4 separate regions of the Homo sapiens genome follow, and regions 1, 2 and 4 are each linked to region 3. The links are contacts of gene promoters, found by promoter capture Hi-C in blood cells and fetal thymus (Javierre and others, 2016). All regions are on one chromosome and are shown on one strand. Each heading gives the region's core, a stretch centred on a gene start or on the middle of the fragment in contact. The rest is flanking DNA. Distances are from core to core; before and after follow the strand shown. Region 1 overlaps OSCAR (osteoclast associated Ig-like receptor). Region 2 holds the start of RPS9 (ribosomal protein S9). Region 3 holds the start of LINC01530 (long intergenic non-protein coding RNA 1530). Region 4 holds the start of PRKCG (protein kinase C gamma).

Region 1 (3,843 bases), core at 884-3,383, 2.5 Mb after region 3:
CATGCCTGTAATCCCAGCACTTTGGGAGGCTGAGGCGGGCGGATCACCTGAGTTTGGGAGTTCGAGGCCAGCCTGACCTACACAGAGAAACCCTGTTTCTACTCAAAATACAAAATTAGCCAGGTGTGGTGGCTCACACCTGTAATCCCAGCTACTCGGGAGGCTGAGGCAGGAGAATCACTTGAACCTGGGAGGCGGAGGTTGTGGTGAGCCGAGATGGCGCCATTGCACTCCAGCCTGGGCAACAAGAGCGAAAGTCCACCTCAAAAAAAATAAAATAAAATAAAATAAAATAAAAAAAGAGGGAAAAAGGAAAAAAAAAGACTCCCTGATGTGCCACTGACTTCCTGTACATGTTTAGGTAAACTTAATATCACCTCTCTTTCCACCATTTTCCCATTTATAAAGTGGGAAGACTGGATTTGATGACATCACAGCCTCATCCAGGTCTGGTGCCTTCCTTATAACCTGCGTCTCTTCTTTATTCTTTTTTTTTTTTTTTTTTTTTTGAGACGGAGTTTTGCTCTGTCACCCAGGCTGGAGTGTGCAGTGATGCAATCTCGGCTCACTACAACCTCCGCCTCCTGGGTTCAAGCAATTCTCCTGCCTCAGCCTCCCGAGTAGCTGGGATTACAGGCGCCCGCCACCATGCCCGGCTAATTTTTGTATTTTTAGTAGAGACGGGGTTTTACCATGTTGTCCAGGCTGGTCTCGAACTTCTGACTTCGTGATCCACCTGCCTCAGCCTCCCAAAGTGCTAGGATCACAGGTGTGAGCCAGCACCCCCGGCTTATTCCTTTTTTAAAATTGTTATTATTTCCCACAGCCACATATGCCGGGGAGGTTGTCCCACATATGTTCTACCAAGGCCCCTCTGGCACTGAGATCAAACCCCGGAAGACCCGCTCAGTCTCTCCTCCCGTCTTTTCAACACGTTAGCGCCCCCAGGTGGCTAATTAGACTTCAAAATTCAGTTCTTGAGGCGGGCGGATCACTTGAGGTCAGGAGTTCAAGACCAGTCTGGTCAACATGGTGAAACCCCGTCTCTACTAAAAATACAAACATTAGCCGGACATGGTGGTACGCACCTGTAATCCCAGCTATTCGGGAGGCCGAGGCAGGTGGATCACTTGAGGTCAGGAGTTCGAGACCACCCTGGCCAATTTGGCAAAACTCCATCTCTACTAAAAATACAAAAATTAGCTGGGCGTGATGGCGCACACCTGTAATCCCAGCTACTCAGGAGACTGAGGCACGAGAATCACTTGAACCCGGGAGGCGGATGTTGCAGTGAACCGAGATCACGCCACTGCACTCCAGCCTGGGTGGAGTGAGATCTTCTCTCAAAAAAAAGAAAGAAAGAAAGAAAGAAAAAGTCGTGCTTGATTATGCTTGATGGCAAAAAGGTGAGACCTTCCTTTCGGCACTGAGTCTGGTAGAAATCGGTGTTACAGGGTAGCTAACATTTATTGAACACTTACTACGGGCCAGTTACTGCTTTAAATGTTTTATGTGTATTACCCACTGACTCCTACAACAATCCTATGAAGTGGGTTTTATCAGTGCATCCATTTTACCGTCAAGGCAAGAGAGAGTTGGGGAAGGGCGCTTTCTGAATGCTGCTACCGTGTCCAGAGTTGGTTCCTTCCTGTGGGTTTGTGGTCTCGCTGACTTTAAGAATGGAGCCAGGGACCTTCGTGGTGAGTGTTACAGCGCTTAAAGATGGCACGGACCTAAAGAGTTAGCAGCAGCAAGATTTATTGTGTAGAGCAAGAGAACAAAGCTCCCACAACGTGGAAGCAGACTCTGGTGGGGTGCCGCGCTCGCCAGCTTTTATTCCCTTATTGTCCCCGCCCGTGTCCTGCTGATTGGTCCATTTTACAGAGCGCTGATTGGTCCATCTTACAGAGTGCTGATTGGTCCATTTTACAATCCTCTTGTAAGACAGAAAAGTTCTCCAGGTCCCCATTCAACCCAGGAAGTCCAGCTGGCTTCACGTCTCACTACTACCTTTCTGTAGCTGCTACTACTACAGTGAGTAGACGGCAGTGCTGGGATTCGAACCCTCTGTCTTCTGGCTTGGAAGTCTTAACCACTAATCGCGTCTTCCTTTCAGCTACTCCTTGGGAAAGGCCTGGAAAGAAGCTACAGCACAGGGCACAGCGGGGTCTAAGGACCGTTCCGCGGAGCTCAGCCAGCAGGACTGTGGGGCTGCAGGAAAGGACAGTCCAGCCCAGGGTCCCAGCTTCTCCGCCACTCAGGTTGGAAGTCTCGGGCTGCAGTGCTCCTGGGGCTCAGGGGCGGATACCAGCAGGAGCGCGGTTCTGACTGCGCCAGTCAAAAGTGACCAGCGCGCCCAGGGAGATGAGGACCAGCCCGGCCAGCCCCAGGCGGACTAGGTTCCCCCGGGTGTAGTCGGAGGAGCCAGAGTCTGCGGGCGGAGCCGGGAGAGAGGGGCCATCAGCTCCCGGACCCCAAAGTCTGGGCCCTGAACTCCAGGTTTCCAGCCCCTGGGGTGGACTTAGGGACCTGACTCTACAGTCTCAAAGTTGAGGGGGAGTCGATGGAGGCTTCAACTCCTGGGTCCAGGAAGAAGGGGCTGGGGCCTGGACTGCTGGATCAGGAAGGAGGGGCTGGGGGCCTGGAGTCCTGGGTCCAGGAAGGAGGGGCTGGGGGCCTGGAGTCCTGGGTCTGAGGGAGGAGGTACTGGGGCCCGGGAATCCTGGGTCTGAGGGAGGAGGAGCTGGAGGACTAGACTCCTGGATCTGAGGGAGGAGGGGCTGGGTCCCAGGAATCCTGGGTCTGAGGGAGGAGGGGCTGCAGGACTAGACCCCTGGGTCTGAAGGAGGAGAGGCTGGGGGCCTGGGCTCCTGGGTCTGAGGGCGGAGGTCCTGGGGCCTGCATTCCTGGGGCGGAGGAGGCGGGCCGGGCCTCAGGGCCCTCACCTTCCCAGCTGATGACCAGCACCTCGCTGCGCTGCGACAGCACGTAGGGCGCGGAGGGCGTGTGATAGTAGCAGCTGTAGGTGCCGGGGGCGCGGGCGCCCAGCAGCGTGAAGTCGGCCCAGGGCTGCGCGGAGTGGCGGTACTGCAGCGGGGCCGCCACGCCCTCGCGGTACAGCACGAAGCTCATGTTCCGCAGGCGGCCCGCGCAGCGCAGGCTCACGTTGGCGCCAGGACCCACCACCGGCCCGGGCAGCGCCACCAGCGACGGCCGCGGCAGCTCCTCTGCAGAGACGGGGTGAGAGTCCGGGGCCGCGTGAGCGTCTTCCGCTCGCTCGCTCGCTCTGTTTCTCCTTCTCCTCTGTCTCTCGCTTTCTCTGTGCCTCTCTCTCTCTTTCTGCCTCTCTTTCTCTCTGCCTGTCTCTCTCTCTGTCTGCCTCTCTCTCTGCCTCCCTCTCTCTCTGCCTCCCTCTCTCTGCCTCCCTCTCTCTCTGCCTCCCTCTCTCTCTGCCTCCCTCTCTCTCTGCCTCCCTCTCTCTCTGCCTCCCTCTCTCTCTGCCTCCCTCTCTCTCTGCCTGCCTCTCTCTCTGCCTGCCTCTCTCTCTGCCTCCCTCTCTCTGCCTCCCTCTCTCTCTGCCTCCCTCTCTCTCTGCCTCCCTCTCTCTCTGCCTCCCTCTCTCTCTGCCTCCCTCTCTCTCTGCCTGCCTCTCTCTCTGCCTCCCTCTCTCTCTGCCTCCCTCTCTCTCTGCCTCCCTCTCTCTCTGCCTCCCTTTCTCCTTCTGCCTCTTTCTCTCTCTCTCCCCCCGCACTGTACCTCTCTCTCTCTCTGCTCCCCTGTCTCTCTCTCTCCCCCTAGTGTCTCTGTATCTGTCTTTTCTTGTGTCTGTGAATCTGTTTGCCC
Region 2 (3,503 bases), core at 624-3,123, 2.6 Mb after region 3:
GGCTAATTTGCCTAAGATCAAGAGCTCGTCAGTGACTGCTGAGGTTCAAACGCAGATCTTTTTTAAGACTTGAGAACCTACAGGTTCAACCACCATTATAAAACCATCTCTGTAATCACGAGGCACCCGGAATTTGTGGAGCTTGGACTTCATCCTGAAGGGAGTGAAAACTTATGGAAGTTTTTTCCTTCCACGTTTCCCCCTTCCAGATGAATAATATACGCGTGTTCAAGATACAAAAATGCATAAAATTTGGCCAGGCATGGTGGCTTACACCTGTAATCCCAGCACTTGGGGAGGCTGAGGCGAGTGGATCACTTGAGCCCAGGAGTTCAAGACCAGCCTGGGCAATATGGCAAAACCCCGTCTCAAAACAACAAAACAAACAAACAAAAAACCCATAAAACTGAACAAGGTAGTTTGTAAGATATGGAAGTACAATGCAGATGACAATAATGACGATGGTAGCTACCACTAGGCGCTTTATTTATGCCACTCTCCTCAACACTGGATAGACTCTCACTTAATCCTCACAAGCTTATGAGGTAGGCGCTACCATCATTCGCCGTTTTACAGAGGAGGACGCTGAGGCACAGAGTGATTGAGAAACTTGTCGAAGGCACTGCAGCTGGCAAGTGGTGACGTGGCATTTGAATCCAGGCATCCGGATGGTGTGGATGCCGTGGAAGAGAAAGGGGCGGGTGGGACTGCTTCCTGAGGAGATAGTGACTGCCGAGGCAGCAGCGTAGGGAAGACAACTGAAGAACACGAGCTGTGGAGACAGACCATCGCATTCGGAGTGGAGAGATGGGTGTACAGACAGACAATAACCAGACTATATATAAAAAGAGAACTCTAGGTCAGGCGCGGTGGCTCACACCTGTAATCTTAGCACTTTGGGAGGCTGAGGCGGGTGGATCACTTGAGGTCAGGCGTTGGAGACCAGGAGTTCAAAACCCCGTCTCTACTAAAAATTTAAAAATTAGCCGGGCATGGTGGTGGGCGCCTGTAGTCCCAGCTTCTCGGGAGGCTGAGGCACGAGAATCGATTGAACCCGGGAAGCGGAGGTTGCAGTGAGCCGAGATCGCACCACTGCACTCCAGCCTGGGTGACGAGAGCGAAAAACTCCGTCTCAAAAATAAAATAAATTACTGATAATAGTACTAATACCCCTTAAGTGGCTATTGATAATAATAGTACCATGGGTGGGGGGGCAACTTCTCTGAGAGTGCTCTGTAAGTATGTATTGAAGATTGAGTAAATACATTTAAAATTCTTAGAACAGTATGTGGCACATAGCGTTCCAGAATGCCACATTATTGTTAGTGACAGAAATAATCTCGGCTGGGCGCGGTGGCTCACGCCTGTAATCCCAGCACTTTGGGGGGGCCACGGCGGGAGGCTCTCTCGAGGCCGGGAGTTCAAGACCAGCCTGGGCAACATGGCAAGACGCCGACTGTTAAAAAAAAAAAATGCTACCCGGGCGTCGTGGCGTGTGCCTGTAATCCCAGCTACTGGGGAGGAGGTGGGAGGATCGCTCGAGCCCGAGAGGTTGGTCGGGGCCTCAGTGAGCCGAAATCACGCCACTGCACTCCAGCCTGGGCGACGGAGCGAGACCCTGTCTCAGAAAGAAAAAGAAAAACCACCGTCCAGGGGCGGAGAAGGAAGGTTCTCCCTACTTCTCAGGTTTCCACTCCCTGGCCGGAAAAAACCTAGTCCTCCCAGGTTAGCACGCCGCTCTAGCCCAGCCTCACGTCTCCACTGCTTCTCAGCCAGCCAACGCCTCTTCTGATTGGCTCTGACGTGCGTGGTGCGTGAAAACGTCACGAGACGCCGGCGTTACTATAAGAGCGCAGCCGTGGCGCTTCCGCGCCTCTTTCTCAGTGACCGGGTGGTTTGCTTAGGTGAGGTGCGGTGGTGTGCTTTTTCTCTAGGGTTTGGGTTGGATGGTGGCCCGGGCCTTCCGAGTTTCCATGAGTAAGCTAAAGACGTTAGGAAACAGAGCAGGGTGGTTGAACGGGAGTGCAGCACGGTTGTGGGGGCAGATACTGACTATGAGAGCGTTGGAGGTTATTCTCGCGAGATCGGATCTGGGCTCCGCGAGGTTTTGGCGTAGTTGTGGGACTGCGCAGGCGCCGTTTGGATCCCTTACGCTCACACTTCTCTCCCGCGCAGGCGCAGACGGGGAAGCGGAGCCAACATGCCAGTGGCCCGGAGCTGGGTTTGTCGCAAAACTTATGTGACCCCGCGGAGACCCTTCGAGAAATCTCGTCTCGACCAAGAGCTGAAGCTGATCGGTGAGTGGCCAAGGCTTCCGGGAAGTGGTTCGGCTTCCGGGAGGCGGTTAGCACGTGGATGAAGGTGCCCATGTACTCTATCTAGTCCGTCCCCTAAATTTGGTACTATTCGTGGTTTAGGAAGGTTTTGTGATTCCAAAGCTGCCAGTCTAGTTGTTGTGCCAGTACGTGGGACTACACTTGTCCACCCCCTTCTCCCCACCAGGCGAGTATGGGCTCCGGAACAAACGTGAGGTCTGGAGGGTCAAATTTACCCTGGCCAAGATCCGCAAGGCCGCCCGGGAACTGCTGACGCTTGATGAGAAGGACCCACGGCGTCTGTTCGAAGGTGCGTATGGGAGTCCACAGCAGAGGGATGGGGTGCAGGGCTTGTGAGGTTCATTCTCCCTTCTGTTGCCTCTGTTCCAGTGATGAGAGTTGTGTCATTGGATAAATGGAACCAGCCTTCTAACTTTTAGTGGCACTTGTGGAGTAGGAAAAGTGTATCTGGATCAGTCTTTGCCCTGTTTCTTAGGTGTGTGGCTTTTTTGCCCAGTTATTGGACCTTCAGTTTAGTAATGACCAGAGCTAAAGATAGGCCTGGCACACCTGGGCACCCGTCTATATCTTTATATTCTGTTTATGTGGCCTGTTTGCTAGTGGATGAGAGTAGACTATGAAGTGGAATTTCTGGGCTAAGTGATGGTGATAACAGGGTTTGCACATTTGCTTGGTTTATTGTTTTTTTAATTAAGTTTTCTCGTTTTATTTAGTCTTTTGAGACGGAGTCTTGCTCTGTTGCCCAGGCTGGAGTGCCGTGGCGCCATTTCGGCTTACTGCAACCCCCGCCTCCTGGGTTCAAACAATTCTCCTATCTTAGCCTCCCAAGTAGCTGGGACTACAGACAGGCGCACGCCACCACACCTGGCTAATTTTACTTTTGAGACGGAGTCTCGCTCCATTGCCCATGCTGGAGTGTAGTTGTCGCAATCTTGGCTCACTGCAAACTCCGCCTCCAGAGTTCAAGCGATTCTCCTGTCTTAGCCTCCTAAGTAGCTGGAATCACAGGCATGGGCCACCAAGCCTGGCTAATTTTCTATTATTAGTGGAGATGGGTTTTCACCATGTTGTCCAGGCTGGTGCTTGTTTTTTTAAGCTGGTCAAGGACATTTAGGTGGTATTTAGCAAAGGCCTGAACAGGAGAGAACCTGTAAAATGTCTCAGGGA
Region 3 (3,884 bases), core at 644-3,143:
ATAAAGGTATTTTGAGAAATTGAATTCCGTTATCAAGTGTGAAGTCCTGATCCAGACTCACCTCGTGCACACTATTTACCACAAAGGTGGACTCCCTATTTTAAATGCATTCACTTAAAGAGACCTTTCCCTGTACTAATTAGTGTTTGTTAAGAAGGACCTTCTGGACATAGTTGAAAGAAAGAGAAAAGAAGCAGGTGTGGGGAGGAGGAGAAGGAGAAGGGAGGAAGGGAGGGAGGGGAAAGAAGATGGATGGACAGATGGAAGGAAGGAATTAGGGATGGCAGAAAGGAGATAAAATAAACTCTACTTTTAAAAGAAACCAGGTGGGGTGAGTGGGAGGGCTTCCCTGTGACCTTGGCCTCAGGGGCTCTTTCTGGCTTCCAGATAAGATACCCCTCAGCTTTGCACTGGGTCTCCTGAGGCTTGGAAGTTATGTCCACAGTGAGGTTGGTGTAGAGGGGCAGCCACTCTTTGGAGAGCAACCTGTAGCCCAGACAGTTGATGCCATCATCAGAGGATCCAGGGATCGGAGGATTGGCGGATCCGGGACAGAAGGCGAGGCCTGGAGGATGGGGAGGGGCAGCCATGTGAGCCTCAGGGAGGACCCAGAACCAACCACCCCACTTCCAACACTGATTCACCTCCAGGGCCTCTGCTTGTGGCCAGGATCTTCCCCCTCCAGCATATGGTAGCCTCTGAAAAGCAGGTGGGGCTGGGAGAGGAGCATCCCGCTTAGTTTCACCCTTCCAGAGACACAGGAAGGCATGGAGGCCAAACACCTGTCTCTGACAGGGTCCCCATGCCACAGCCCAGCCCTCCAGTCCAGGGTAGCCCATGTCCCCCTCAGCCCAGGGCGGCCCATACCTGCCTCATCATGTCAGGACCTGCAGCTCCTGCCTCCCACCTGGCAGTGATGTCATCCTCATCATCCCAACCCCACTACACGTTGGAGAAGCCATTTATCTTCAGGTAGTGAGTGGGGTGCAGGGCAAACACCCCTCCAAGGCACAAGCTAACGGCTTAATTGCTGTTGTTTCCCCATGTTCTGGCTTGCAGCACTTGTAACCTCTGGGCTCCTGCAGCCCTTAACATCTGATACCTTTACATTAAGATTTATCATCCTTATCTCTGGACCAGGCTGAATACACCTGTGTCCCGGTGCATCTGGCCAGCGGGTCAAAGGGCCTAGCACACAGATTAACAAATGAATGAGTTCCAGTTACCAAAGTTCAATCCTTGAGGTGGACAGAAGACGCCCAAGGCGTGTCTCCCATCACCCTTCACTCTCAATCCTCCTTATCAAGGGCCTCACGGGAATAGTGATAAGATCTCAGAATATACAGGAGGGAGCAGTTTCGGGAAGGGGGGCATTGGAAGGAAGTGGAGGGCTTGGATCTGGGGAGCAAGCGGGGAGAGTGCTCCGTTCCTTGGTTTTGGGATCTTGCCTTACGGGTCTCACCTGCCCTCCATCCTGGCTTCCACCTGGCAGGGTGTGTTTGTGTCAGAAAGACGATTGTGCGTAACTGTTCACCGCGTCCACGTCCCGAGAGTTGCGCACGCGTGGAGATCTGCAAAACGCTCCCTTTCAGCTCCGCGCATGCACAGAGACCCCACCCCGCAAGTCCTTGCCCTTCGGCCTGGGCAGGCGTCCACTCCCATGGCTGCAGGGCGCGCCGAAGAGCCCACTCTGCATCCCCGAGACGCGGCCCAATCCTAGGAATGTGCTTAGCGCAGGTGCTATCTTCCCTTTTCACATTCCCAATCTCTTTCTCCGCCCCCTCAAACTCTTGCCATACTCCCACAACAGCAGAAAATCTGAAAAAAAAGTCCATCCCATCTTTGCACTGACAGCAGTGCACAGCAGCTGGCAGAGAATTCTGGCACGGCTATTGTGCTTGCGCAGGCGCAGACGGGAAGCGGGCCGGACCGGCCTAGTACACTCTGGGAGGCGTGCGCAGAATGCGCAGCGCTGCCGCGAGGATCTCTGGGAACTGTAGGCCCAGTTTGTCCGAGAGCCGCAAGTGTTTCGGGACGACGCAACGCAGGGGCACCTGGGAGTCGTAGGCGGATGGGCCCAAAGCCTTCCGGGAGTCGTAGTCCTTCCGCCCGCTCCTCGTTTCTTTGGAGGTTGGCCCTTCCAGCTCCAGTTCTGCCCAGGTGAGCGCCCATCCCGCGGCCGGCCGGTCCTGGCCCTTTGTCGCGATGACGTGGCGGAGTTGAGGGTCTCTGTATTTCTCTCCCCCGCGTTCTGGTAGGCGTCCCTGGAAAGATGGCACCCTTTTCCGTGATCTCTCAATCCCTCTCTCCGGGTGGGAGTGCTCTAAGCAGCTGTTGTACCTGCTGACCCGCTTTGGATTCTGCGGCCCAGCCTGACACCTTCTCACTCTCGCCCTTCAACCTGGGTGCAGTGCGAGTGCACCCTCCTCTGTCCTGGTTACAACACAGAGTGGTCAGGGCTGGCCCAGGGGGTGCTCAGGAGGCTGTGGGAACACAGAGGAGGTGCTAGACCCAGCCCAGGGTTCAGGAAAGACCTTACAGAGCAAAGGACCTCAAATCTACCACATCCAAACGAAATCCCAGATTCCCTGTCCTAAACCTGCTCCTCTCACAATCTTTCTGCCTCCTCCCCACTAACTGTCCATCCAAGTGCTCAAGCCAAAATCTTGGAATGGTCGCCAGTGTTCTGTTTCTCTCATCCGCTTCCCTCCCGCAACCAAATCTTGTGTGAGTCTCATCGTCTCTATCTCCAGAAGAGGCCCAGAATCTAACCACTTCTCTCCACTTCCACTGTCTCCATTCTGCTCCGAGCTACCGTTACTCCTCACCTGCATCACTGCAGGGGCCTCCTCACTGTTCTGTTTCTTCCCTTGCCACACTCCACCCTCTATTCAGGCACAGTGCCAGGAAGCCTGTGGAAATATAAATCAGATCCTGTCACCAGTCACTACCCTGCCCCCCAGCTTAAAATCATCCAGTGGTTCCCATCTCAGAATAAAATCCAAGCTCCTTATCCTGCCAACCTCTAAGCTTCTGGTCCTTTCTGGTCGTCCTCAGTCACAACACACTTTCCAATGGGCTGAACACAGCCAGGCCCTGCCCTTCATGTCCTTTGCATTTGCTATTAACTCAATTTGGAGCATTCTTCCCACCCTGACCCAATATCTGTCTACTCATTTTGTTGGCCTCAGCTCAAAGGCCTCCAGCCACCCTAAAGAACCCCCTCCCTGTTCCCCCCCCCCCAGTCATACCACCAAAGATAATTCCCTCGTATTTGGAAAGCATCTTAGTCATTTACTTCCTTATCCATGGCCTGGTTCCTCCATTAGAACATCAGTGCCCTGACAGCTGCAACCTTTCCTATCTTGCTCACTGCTGTGTCCCAGTACCTAGAGCATGCTGGGTACATAGGCGGCACTCAGTGGGTATTTGTTAAATGAATGAATGAAAGTTTGAGCTGAGACTTGAAGGTAAGAGTTAGGTCTACCACAGTGTTTAGGGAAGTGTCTTGCGCAATGAGATCAGCCTGGCCAAAGATGCAAGGGGTTGAAAAACCAATGGGAAGTTCATCTGGCTGAGGTGAGTAGGTAACTAAAACAGGGATGCAACTGGATCTGATAAGGACCTCAGGAAGTGAACCCCAGTACTAGGTGACTGCAGATTCAGAGGTTGAAAAAGCTGAGTTGTCTTCCATAGAGAAGCTGGGTGAAAGGTGGTGTTGCTTCCGGGAGACGGGGAGCTTGGTTAGGTAAGTTTCTGCCTTGGGGTGTGAGAGCTGGTCAGTTGGGCACTGAGATATGAGAGGCCTAGATGGGATCTTCCGTGGGGCATTTGGAGGGCCAGGCTGGTGGACATTGCGATTCAGAGTCACCCACAAACAGAAT
Region 4 (3,394 bases), core at 851-3,350, 2.3 Mb after region 3:
CGACAGAGATTCCTAGAGCCAGAGACAGAGATTCAGAGAGCCAGAGACACAGAGAGATTCATAGAGACATATAGAGAGATTCAGAGAGCCTGAATCACAGAGATTCACAGAGCCAACGAGACAAACAGAGAGATTCATAGAGCCAGAGACACAGATTCGGAGAGTCAGAGAGACATAGAAAGATTCATAGAGCCAGAGACACAGAGATTCAGAGAGTCAGAGAGACATAGAGAGACATTCATAGAGCCAGAGACACAGAGAGATTCATAGACATATAGAGAGATTCAGAGAGCCTGAATCACAGAGATTCACAGAGCCAAAGAGACAAACAGAGAGATTCATAGAGCCAGAGACACAGAGGGATTCGGAGAGTCAGAGAGACATAGAAAGAGATTCATAGAGCCAGAGACACAGAGATTCATAGAGACATAGAGATTCATAGAGCCAGAGACACAGAGATTCAGAGAGTCAGAGAGACATAGAAAGACATTCATAGAGCCAGAGACACAGAGAGATTCAGAGTCAGAGAAACATAGAGATTCATAGAGCCAGAGACACAGAGAGATTCAGAGTCAGAGAGACATAGAGAGACATTCATAGAGCCGGAGACACAGAGAGATTCAGAGTCAGAGAGACATAGATTTATAGAGCCAGAGACACAGATTCAGGGAGTCAGAGAGACATAGAGAGACATTCATAGAGCCGGAGACACAGATTCAGAGTCAGAGAGACATAGACATTCATAGAGCCAGAGACACAGATTCAGAGAGTCAGAGAGATGAATAGATTCAGAGAGCCAGAGACACAGGGAGAGTGAATCACAGACACAGAGGGACGGGGAGATCCCCAGAAACAGAAAGAGATTCATAGAGCCAGAGAGACAAATAGAGATTGGGTCAGAGAGAAAGGGACAGAGACAGAGACAGAGAAGAGAAGAGGGAGAGAGATTGGGTCAGAGAGAAAGGGACAGAGACAGAGAAGAGAAGAGGGAGAGAGAGACTGAGTCATAGACAGGAGAGAGACCCCCCTAGCATCAGAGAGAGAGAGAGAGATCAACAGAGCCAGAGAGGGACAAGTACAGAGAAACAGATGGAACCAGAGAGATATAGGAAGAGACAAACAAAAACAGAGACGGAGTTGCAGAACCGGAGGAAGGGAGAGAGACAGAGACAAAGGCATTTATAAAGACGGGTGGAGGTGAGGAGAGAGAGGGAGAGACAGGGGCAAGCATTTAGAGAGTGACTCCCAGAGAGGAAGACAGAGACGGACTCCCAAAGAGATCAAGTTGCAGAGGGAGGGGGAGACAGAGTCACAGCCTGAGAGAGAATAGAGATTCACAGAGCCAGAGAGACAAAGACAGGGAAAGAAACAAACTCAGGGAGACAGAGGCGGAAGAATTTATCAGACGTAGAGGGAGAGACAGAGGGAGACTGATTCACAGTGAGGCAGACCAAGACCCCGAGAAGAACCACGACACCAAGACCCAGAGATGGCGACAGATACAGATGGAGACACACAGCAGAGGAAATAGAGAAATAGAAAGAAATAGAAACAGCATTTCTCGGAGACAGGGAAAAGAAAACAGATCCACTGAGAGGCAGAAACAGAGACACATCGAGAAAGCTCGCTCCAGGAATAGAGGGAGAGGGACAGAGGTCACAAGAAAGACACACGCAGGCAGAGAGCTACACAAATAATGGAGAGGCCAGGGGAGGAAATAAAGACTCAGCCGGCATCGGAGAAAGTGAGAACCTTAGCGCCCTGCCTGTCCACTGCTGGACCCCTAGCGTGGAGCATAAAGTTTGTTGAAGGAAGGAGAGGGGCAGGGTCAGACACAGGGACCCCAGGGCGCCCACAGGACACACGAGGCACCCTAGTGGGGGAGGAACGCGGGGCAGGATGACAGATTGCAGGGTGGTGGGGGGGAGCCAGGCTCAGAGGATGCCCCTCCCTCCAGCCAGCCCCCGGAGTGGGTGTGTGCACGTGTGGGGGGCGGGGAGGGAGGACATTTGTCCCGTGTCTCCGGGAGGGGAGCGCCTTTAAGCCGAAACCCCGCCCTCTCGGTCGTCCTGGCAACGCCTCCCCCAACCCGGGGCTCCCACATTTCAGCAGGTGCCGGAGCTGGAGCTCCCACCGCCGCCGCCCGTGCCTCCGGCTGCCGGCGCCCCTGCCTTTGGCTCTTCCTCCCCACTCGCCCGCTCCCCCTGGCGGAGCCGGCGCGCCCGGGGTGCCGCTCCCTGCCTGGCGCGCTCCGCACCTGGAGGTGCCTTGCCCCTCTCCTGCCCACCTCGGAATTTCCCTGTGGCTCCTTTGATCCTTCGAGTCTCCAGCTCCTCTCCCTTCCACCTGTTTCCCCCAAGAAAGGCAGGATCCTGGTCCCTGCTACGTTTCTGGGGCCATGGCTGGTCTGGGCCCCGGCGTAGGCGATTCAGAGGGGGGACCCCGGCCCCTGTTTTGCAGAAAGGGGGCCCTGAGGCAGAAGGTGGTCCACGAAGTCAAGAGCCACAAGTTCACCGCTCGCTTCTTCAAGCAGCCCACCTTCTGCAGCCACTGCACCGACTTCATCTGGTGAGGGAAGGGGGCTGGGGGACTGGGGGACGAGGGGACTAGGGGTGCAGACTCCTATCACGCCGACCCCTGTGGAAGGAAGAAGGAGGGGGCTGTAGTCCCGACTCCCAGGTTCTAGGATGGCCAGGGAACGCTGGGAGCTTCGACTCCTGGGTTTCAGTGAGGAGGAGGCTGGTTCCTGGAGTGCTGGGTCCGAGGGAGGAGGAGGCTGGAGGACAGAGGTCCTGGAGTCTTGGGTCTGAGGGAGGAAGGGCCTGGGGGGCTGGGAGCCTGGATTCCTGGGTCTGAAGGAGGAAGAAACTGGGGGCTGAACTCCAGTCTAAGGGAAGAAGGGCTGGGGGCCAAAATTTCTGGGTTCTAGAAAGAGGAGGTGGCCGGGGCTTGGACACCTGGGCCCTGCGGGAGGAGGGTCAGAGAGCGCAGGCCCCCTGTGGCTCGCAGAGGTTGGGGGTCCAGGTACCCCTTTCTGCACTGACCTAGGATCCCTGACTCTTCCAGGGGTATCGGAAAGCAGGGCCTGCAATGTCAAGGTAAGAGCTGGGGACCGGGGCTCCTGGGACCCTCAGGAGGGTGGAGGCTGGGGCCCCACAGCTGAGGCTGCTTGACACACGTGTTCTCTGGTCCCCAGAGAGGCGCGGGGGAGCCCGGGGCGGGGGGTGTGGCAGAGACACAGCCTGTGGTGGGGAGGGAGCTTTGATGGTGGGGCCACCGCGGAGGTGGTGCTGGGGGCCCCTCCCTCGGCCGGCTCCAGGTGGGGACAGATATTTGGAGAATCTGTTGCCATGGGAACATGGAGATTTGGAAAAGGGGAGCTGAAGGGGGGAAG

What was found. Contacts are between HindIII fragments. The CHiCAGO score rates a contact against its expected background, and 5 or more counts as called.
Region 1: a fragment that was not itself captured here is called in contact with the fragment with the promoter of LINC01530 in region 3 in 1 of 17 cell types (total CD8 T cells); the score reaches 5.8 in total CD8 T cells.
Region 2: a contact is called between the fragment with the promoter of RPS9 here and the fragment with the promoter of LINC01530 in region 3, in 3 of 17 cell types (activated CD4 T cells, total CD4 T cells and naive CD8 T cells). The highest score is 6.1, in activated CD4 T cells.
Region 4: a contact is called between the fragment with the promoter of PRKCG here and the fragment with the promoter of LINC01530 in region 3, in 1 of 17 cell types (naive CD8 T cells). The highest score is 5.8, in naive CD8 T cells.

Annotation. Positions count from the first base shown.
Region 1 is chr19:54,092,927-54,096,769 of GRCh38, forward strand. It overlaps OSCAR (osteoclast associated Ig-like receptor), which reads right to left. Exons shown (of 5, transcript NM_133169.6): 4 at 2,946-3,227; 5 at 1,742-2,431. The coding sequence ends at 2,295. Among named protein-coding and RNA genes, the nearest start is that of OSCAR, 6.0 kb to the right of the region's middle. The HindIII fragment of the contact is 5,004 bases long and covers 1-3,843 here.
Region 2 is chr19:54,198,985-54,202,487 of GRCh38, forward strand. RPS9 (ribosomal protein S9) reads left to right here and starts at 1,874. Exons shown (of 5, transcript NM_001013.4): 1 at 1,874-1,904; 2 at 2,176-2,297; 3 at 2,503-2,625. The coding sequence starts at 2,201. RefSeq lists an enhancer at 1,262-1,931 and a silencer at 1,694-2,187. The HindIII fragment of the contact is 3,345 bases long and covers 536-3,503 here.
Region 3 is chr19:51,592,487-51,596,370 of GRCh38, forward strand. It overlaps LINC01530 (long intergenic non-protein coding RNA 1530), which reads right to left and starts at 1,894. Exons shown (of 2, transcript NR_034159.1): 1 at 1,463-1,894; 2 at 1-565. It overlaps ZNF175 (zinc finger protein 175), which reads left to right. Exons shown (of 5, transcript NM_007147.4): 5 at 1-24. RefSeq lists enhancers at 338-973, 974-1,609, 1,610-2,245, 1,992-2,301, 2,512-2,561 and a silencer at 2,644-2,811. The HindIII fragment of the contact is 8,842 bases long and covers 1-3,028 here.
Region 4 is chr19:53,880,097-53,883,490 of GRCh38, forward strand. It overlaps PRKCG (protein kinase C gamma), which reads left to right and starts at 2,101. Exons shown (of 18, transcript NM_002739.5): 1 at 2,101-2,568; 2 at 3,067-3,098. The coding sequence starts at 2,399. RefSeq lists an enhancer at 2,553-3,104. The HindIII fragment of the contact is 17,886 bases long and covers 1-3,394 here.